2 separate regions of the Homo sapiens genome follow, and region 1 is linked to region 2. Evidence: promoter capture Hi-C in 16 types of primary human blood cells and fetal thymus (Javierre and others, 2016). All regions are on one chromosome and are shown on one strand. Each heading gives the region's core, a stretch centred on a gene start or on the middle of the fragment in contact. The rest is flanking DNA. Distances are from core to core; before and after follow the strand shown.

Region 1 (3,766 bases), core at 922-3,421, 43 kb before region 2:
AACATGGATGGAAATGAATGAGTGAGGAAAGACTGATGCAGGAAGAGACTACAAAGTTTCCAGATCATGACAGAACTTGTAGGTGAAATGTGGAAATTCTTATTTTGTACTAAGATCAAATAATTTTAAGAAGGAAAATAATTTGAATTTACTTCCTTCCACTTTGTGAGTATAACTTAACTTCAGGAGAATAGAATAATAGGTAGTGTATTAAACAGTGAAGAGACAAATAGGAGGCATTAAAGGCAAGATATAATTGTAGATTAAATTAGAGAACTCACAATTGCAATGGAGAAACTTGGCTGAATTTGAGATACATTTTAATGTTAAATCAATATAACTTGGTAATTCACAGGTGCTTCATGAAGAGAGAAGAGCCAAAGGAGCCTGTACTTTATTTTCAACAATGGCTGGATGGTATCACCACATATTTATATTGGGAAGTTGAAATAAGAGAAAATTGATAAGAAAAATCATACATTGCATTTGTGATATATTTTGTCTCAGTTCCATTGATACATCCATGTGGAAAAATACCTAATATTTGATTGGAAACAGGACTAGAGCTCAGAAGAGTTTTGGACTCAATGTATATTATTAACCGGTGGTCAGAGTTTGTGTGTATTTTAACATATGGGAAAGATACCATAACTTACAGATGAGAGAGAGAGAGAGAGAGGAGAAAGAGAGAGAGAAAGAGAGAGCCTAAAGAGGGGACTGGCAAACTACAACTTGCTGGCCAAATCTGGGTGCTGTCTGCTTTTGTAAATGCAGTTTTATTGGAACACAGCCATGCCATTAACTTCTATAATATATACCGCTATTTTTATGTTATAAAGAGCAAATTGAGTAGTTTCATCAGAAACCATATGACCTGCAAACCCTAAAATATTTACTATCTGGACTGTTTAATTTTACTGAGCCTAAAATAAATACTTGAAGAATTTTGATACTGAATGTTTAGGTAGAGGAATATTAGACTAAAAGATAGGATAGAAGAGGAGAGGGAGAAAGAGAAAGACAAAAAGAGGAAGAGAGGGAGCAGCCTGCCTGACTTAAGACACACAGGACAGGCTTGCTGGGGAGGACACTGGCAATCCCCCATCACTCCTGGGTGTTGGGAATGTTGACTTTGTTCCAACCCAGCTTCCCGTCACGAAGGTCTGGCTGTCATATGGGGCCAGAAGGCGGTCCGGGGGAAACTGAGGGTAGCTGGCTGAGGCCACACCTCAAAGTTCTCCAAAGGCCCCTGGACTAACTTTAGTCCCTGATTGCCCATTAGGGTGTCAGTACTAGGACCTCCATCCAGTCTTTCCTATTGTTCTTCCTTTCTTATTTTCATGGCTATCATGGTTCCTATCTCTTCTTTATATACAATGTTAAATGTATATAATGTTATTGTAAACTACAGAAATATTACTGGGTAGAATGAGCATTTGGCTTAGTCATCAGGAGTGTAAATGAGAACAATGTGGTGTCTGTCTATTCTTAGAATCAAGGAGAATATAACAGTTGAGTTTTCTTTCCCCTGTTGGAGGAACCCACATGCATAGGGCAAGAGGCTTTTTTCCCTAGGCACCTTCCCCTCCCCTGCACTTAAGTTGTCCTTTTAGGAGGCACATTGTTGGGCTAGATCCCCAACTCCAGGGACTTCCTTCCTCTCCCTTGGTTGAGGAGGACCTGGTCCCACAGCTTTGCCTGCTTATGAAAGGGAAGCAACCGAAGGACTGCCCTGCTGGTTACTGGCTGCAATTTGGTGAGGGCCGCCTGGGACTAATTTAATCGGTTCATACACCCTCCTGAGACACCTTTTTCCCAAGCTTCAGTTTGAGGCCCTAGAAAGGAAAACTAGATCTGAGGGATACAAAGGCAAAAGACAGCATAAGTCTAGGGGCACAGCACAGGTGAGCATGACTAATTCCTGCCGATTAGGCTCTTCTGCTTCATGGAAGGAGGTCATGCTCACATTCATGGCTTAGATACGGTCTAGAGAACTTAAAGGTTATTGACAGTGGAAGGCTTAGGCACAGCTCAGGTGAGTGTGAATATTTCTGCCAGCTACGGCTTCCTGCTTCATGGGTCAAGGTCACATGTGCACCCATGGTTGCCACCTGCACAGGTCACCAGGACTCAGGAATATAAGGTTGGAAGAAAAACAGGGATGCCTTTTTTCTCTTCCTCATGTACCCCAGGTATTAGCTGGAAAGATAAAATAACAAAAGGATGCCTTTCTCCTTCTTTCCAGGTGGGTAACCAACCAACTTCAACCTGACTCCTCTCGAGTGCATCCTGAATCACTGGGACCCCTTTGACCCTCAGGCTAGAAAGAGAGAGGAAGAAAACTTTTTCATCCTCTGTCCTCTTTTCCAGATGTGTAACCAACACTCTTCAGCCTGCACCCCTCTAGAGTGTATCCTGAATCACTGTGACTACTTTGACTCTCAGACCCTGAAGAAAAAGTGCCTCATATTCCTTTGCACAATGGTGTGGCTGAATTATGTTATGCAGGAAGGAGAAGCTTAACCTCAGGAAGGAAGCATTTTTTTTTAATAATATTCTGTAGCTGGACCTTTTCTGGAAATGTGAGGGCAAGTGGCCTAAGGCCTCATTTGTGCAAGCCTTCTTTGTCTTGCAGGATAGTCCAGACCTTTGCCAATATTGTAGGATTGATTCAGCCTCCTAGCATCCACCTCAGGAAAGGCTGCAAGGGGCAATCTCGGGAACTAGGGAAACAAACCCCAGAGGTCCCTCCAGTTAAGGAATCAACTGCCTCTACACCTCTCTATCCAGGTGGTCTTCCAAGTTTACCTCATCCTAAAAAACATATTTTAGGCAGGTCCCAGTGTCACTCCTGCCCCTACAACAGATGCCTGGTGAATAGGGCCCCATTAAGGTCCAAGTCCCCTTTTCTCTACAGTTCTTAAGGAAAATTAAGGGGGATCTTGGCAAGTTTGCAGACGATCCTGAGAGGTGTATATAGAGGCTTTCCTGAATTTAACCCAGGTATTTGAACTCTCCTGGAATGATGTCATGTTGCTTGTGAATCAAACCCTGATTACTGCTGAAAGGCCACTCTAAAAACAGCAGATCATTTTGGGGATGACTTTTTGTATCTCATAAAGGGCCAAGGAAGGGGATGAAAGTTATGTGACTGGAAGAATAGCAATACCATTGGTGGGTCCTAAATGAGACCCCAATGATGAAATGGGAGAATGGAGGAAGAGACACCTTCAGGTATGCATACTGGAGGTCTTATGAAGGACTAGATTTAAGCCTTTCAATTATCCAAGCCATCCATGATAGGCCAGGGATTAGGTCAGAATCCCATTGTCTTCCTGGAAAGGCTAAGAAGGGCCTTGGTAAAGCCTACCTCTCTATCTGCTGATTCAGTCAAGGGACAGCTAATCCTAAAAGATAAGTTTATCACACAGACAGCCCCTGATATCAAGGGAAGCTACAGAAACAGGTTATAGAACAAAATAGTATGTTAGAGAATTTCCTGAAAGTAGCCACCTTGGTCTTTAATATAGGAACCAGGAGGAAGACCAAAAAAGAGAAAGAAGATACAAGGAAAAGGCAGAGGCTCTAATAACTTCCCTGCAGGCTCACAAACCTCAGAGTCTCTGAGACGCGTTTTTAGCTACTACAAATGTAGCAAGCCAGAGCACTTTATGAAGGACTGTCTGAACAGCAGGAGGAAGCTACTTTGACCCTGTCCAATTTGCAATGGGGGCCACTGGAGGGTGTACTGTACCCAGAAACGCAG
Region 2 (3,901 bases), core at 1,334-3,833:
GACTTAAAAATGTGTCAGTCTAGATTTTTATTGCTCTTATATTCAGCCAGTCTATCGTCTCCAGGCACTAGAGAAGCACTTTAGTAACTTCTAGCTCCTTCTGAGTTTTCGCATGTCCCACATGTCTATATGAGTGTCTTCTGGAATTTTAATTCTAGGTCATCAATCCTTTTTCCAGAATCGTACTTCTCTGGACTTAAGAATACAGTTTCCTAATTTCCATGCTTAGTGATCCTTGTTGCATCCCACTTCTTCCAGGTTGTCTGGGTTGGCTTCTTCTTGGCTGAAAAACGTGACGTGTACTTTCACTGTACATGACAGTTCCATTCCAATCGCCTTGTACAGAAAGGGTGTTTGGCAGCTTGCATGTTGTAAGTTGCGTACTCCAAGTTCAGGGGAAGCTCAGGCTTCAGGTCCAGTCGGGGGAGGAGTGGAGCAGAAGTGGGGCTGGGGGGAACGTCCAGGTGGAAGGAAGGGAGGCTGGGAACAACGTGGGTGGCAGATAGTGGTCAATACGCAATGTCGGTGAGGAACACTGGGACCCCTTGCACGTAGGTGCCCTGGGGGGTTTGAATGACTTGTAAAACCGCTGAGTCACCCAGAGCCCTAAACCCGATGCAGGGATAGAGGGTCAAGACGGGTTGCCAGTCAACAGCCTGAGGCCCAGGAGCAGCGGGCGGCTCCTGAAACCCCAGCTCAGGTTGCGCCACGTCGGGGCCAGGGCCTTCCTGCACAGTTCCAGGCGGAGGACCTGTTTCAGAAAGGGAGAAGGCTGCGGTCTCCGTGATTTCCGGTTCCCCCTGGTGGCCTGGCTCTCCATGGTGGTCCAGTTGGATGTGCACGTCCGGTGCCATCAAGCCTTCTGCCCCCTGTCTCTGGCCAGCGTCCCCGCGGGGCCCAGCCCTTCTGCCACGGCCTCGCCCTGGCCGCCGGCTTCCTCCCCGGCGCCGGCCTCTCTCTGCAGGAGGGGGTGACTCTGGGCGAGCTGGGGGCTGCCGTCTGAAGGGTTTCACGTAAGCGATGGGTTTTGCGGGTTGGGCTGGCTGTGCGGGCCCATCTGCTTCCACGGAGCCTTCAGGGTCCGCAACACAGCAGCCTGGCTCTGGAGGAGGCCCACCTGAGGCTAAAAGAGAAGCGGAGCGTGAGCAGAGAGAGACAGAAGGAACTTCACCCGTCAAGCAGTTATAGGATACTTTTACAAATAAATACTCAGAGAAAAGAGGGATTTCTGAAGTTAAAATTGTGAGAGAAGAAACAAAACTCTCCACGGAAGTTGGAGAATGAAGTTGAGAAGGTCTCCCACAGAACAAAGCAAAAACCTAAAATGATGGAAAGAAGGATGAAATATAAGAGAATTAGAGGTATGCTGTGGCTGAGACATTTCACCAGAAAATTTCAGAGTGCTGAGGAAAAAGAGAAGATTCTAACAGATTCTAGAGAGCGGGAGACAGAGAAAGGAAAAGTCACATGGAAAGGGCTAGGATTCCACATGTCTCAAAAGTCAGACATCTCAAAAGCAGCAGTTCAGTCTAGAACATAACAGAAAATGTCTTCGAAATTTCAAGGGAAATGAATTTCCCACCTAAAATTTCCTGTCCAACCGAAGTTTCGCTGAAGAATCTGGGAGGGGAGAATGAAGATGTTTCAGACAAGCAAGATGTTAAAGAATTTCCTTTCAGTGGATGCTTTATTGTTATGCATCTGTCAAACTAGACAAGATTAAAAGATTTAGGACACTCAGCGTATGAAGGGAAAAGTTTTGGAGAACAACGTGGCAACAGCCGGAAAATTCCAACTCCTCCGGGAAAGAACAAGGTGGAAGTACCGGTTTATCATAGATCAAGACGTAGCGTGAGGACTCGCTCTGCTACGGAGAAACAGTAATACAAAACTAAACAGAAGGAAACAGCGACAACAACAGCAAATCTCAGATTTGGGAAATGGGATTACGGTTCGGAAGAGGGAAAGGAATTTCCCAGATGATGTGGAACCCGGGAGCTGACTTCCAACAAGCAGCCCAGGTTGAGGCAGGCTAGGAGAAGGTGAAACAGAGAATGCTTGATTGAGTTTGAGTGTCAACCATTGGGGAAGAATTGGGGAACAGACGAAATTAAAAAGAGAGGAGTGGCAGGCGTTTGATGTACCTTGATTAGGGGCCATGGAGCGAAGTCGCTTCGAAGGCCTTGGTTCCTCCATGAGCAATCGGCGGGAGGGGCTGGGGAGAAAAACAAGAGAGCAAGAACGGATTTAGGAAGACAGAGGTGACAAGGCAGGGGGATGGCCGTGGCCTTTCTAGGGGAATGAGGATTCTGTCCCCAACTGCACCCACCCGAGATCCGTCCACGCCTCCGGGACCCCCAGACACACACCTGATCTTCCCACAGCTGGCTCCGGAGATCTGAAAATTAGGAGACTCTTCGACGAAGAGAGGCCCGAGGAGTCGGAGGTGTCCACAGGTTCACCGCTGTAGCTCTGAGGTAGTCCACCCGCAGCCAGGGAGTCTGGAGGGAGCACGCAGCAGGTTCTGGCTCCGAGCCCAGCAGAAAGCCGACTGCTGGAGGCCGAGCGCCGTCCCTCTTATATGGCAGCAAGGCAGTCGCGTAAGGGACAGGCGTCGTCAGAGGGGGGCCGGCTGGGGCGGGCCTGGCTGGGCTTGCGAGGCGCATTGGGCCAGTCCCCTGCCAGTCAAATGGGGGCCCTTCTGAGATGCCGCCATTTCTAGACGTCCGTGGTTGATTGATTAATCTAATCATCGAGGAAAAAAAATTGCATAATGACCTCTGAGTGTCAGCACAATGAGGTGTGGTGCCCTGAAAGCGGCTGACAGGAAGATGCGATTAGCTTAGATCTGAGCATGGTCAAGGAAAGCATCCAAAGCGGGGATATCTGGGCTGAAATCTGGAACATAACGTTTGAAATTAGTCATCCTGAACCGGGTTGGGAGAGGCAGGGAGGGAGGAAGGGGAGTGAAGAGAGTGTGCTGAGGCCCGGACTGGAAGGGAGCCCGGCACATTCTGGGAATGGACGGGAGGCCAAGTCCAGGCCCGGAGGTGGTGCGTGTGAGACGGGGCTGGAGATGCGTGTGAGACCCACACCGCTGGCTTTTATTGCTGTGGGTGCACTCACGGGTGGAGGAAGACAGCGGGAAACACAGCAGGACGCTGGAGGGGATCCCACAGTGGGTTATTTGGTTGGTTTGCATCCTTGTGTTTTTTACAGAGACTGGTTCTCGCTCTGTAGCCCAGGCTGGAGTGCAGCGGTGCCATCTCGGCTCGCTGCGGCTACTTGGGGGGGTTGGGGGGGGGTGGCTGAGATAGGAGAATCAGTTCAAGTGATTCTCCTGTCTCGGCCTCCGGAGTAGCTGGACTACAGGTGAGCGCCACCACATCGGGATAATTTTCGGATTTTTTTGGAGAGACGAGTTTTCGCTATGTGCCCAGGCTTGTTTGGAAGGCCTGAGCTCAAGCCGTCCGTCCCGCTCAACCTCCCGAGTCGCTGGGACCCCAGGCGCAAGCCACCATGCCGGGCCAATTACTTTTTTGGGTTGTATTTCCTGTTGAAGTGAGGTTTTGCTATGCTTTCACCTCACATACCTTTTCTGTCCCAAGACCCCATCCAGGGTACCACCTTACAACTCGTCACGGTTCCCCTTGGCTGCGACGGTTTCTCACACTTGCCTTGTTTTTGATGACTCTGACACTTTGAATACTGATCAGATATATTGTGGGATGTCCTCTCCTGAAGTTCGTGTGATGTATTCCTTGTGATCTGACTGGAATTATATGTTTTTGTCAGGAAGATTGCAGCGGGAAAGCGCCATTCCCATCCCATCCTGTCTAGAGTACACACCATCAAGCCGGCTTATCACTGCTGCTATTAGTCCTGGTCACCGGGCTGGGGC

The links. The method cuts DNA at HindIII sites, captures the fragments that hold promoters and counts their contacts. A CHiCAGO score of 5 or more calls a contact.
Region 1: a contact is called between a fragment that was not itself captured here and the fragment with the promoter of PRR20A in region 2, in 10 of 17 cell types (neutrophils, fetal thymus, erythroblasts and 7 more). The highest score is 10.9, in neutrophils.

The regions. Positions count from the first base shown.
Region 1 is chr13:57,182,442-57,186,207 of GRCh38, reverse strand. No RefSeq gene overlaps it. Among named protein-coding and RNA genes, the nearest start is that of PRR20E, 17 kb to the right of the region's middle. The HindIII fragment of the contact is 698 bases long and covers 1,823-2,520 here.
Region 2 is chr13:57,139,600-57,143,500 of GRCh38, reverse strand. PRR20A (proline rich 20A) reads right to left here and starts at 2,583. Exons shown (of 3, transcript NM_198441.2): 1 at 2,370-2,583; 2 at 2,145-2,215; 3 at 1-1,123. The coding sequence starts at 2,196. The coding sequence ends at 510. The HindIII fragment of the contact is 41,430 bases long and covers 1-3,901 here.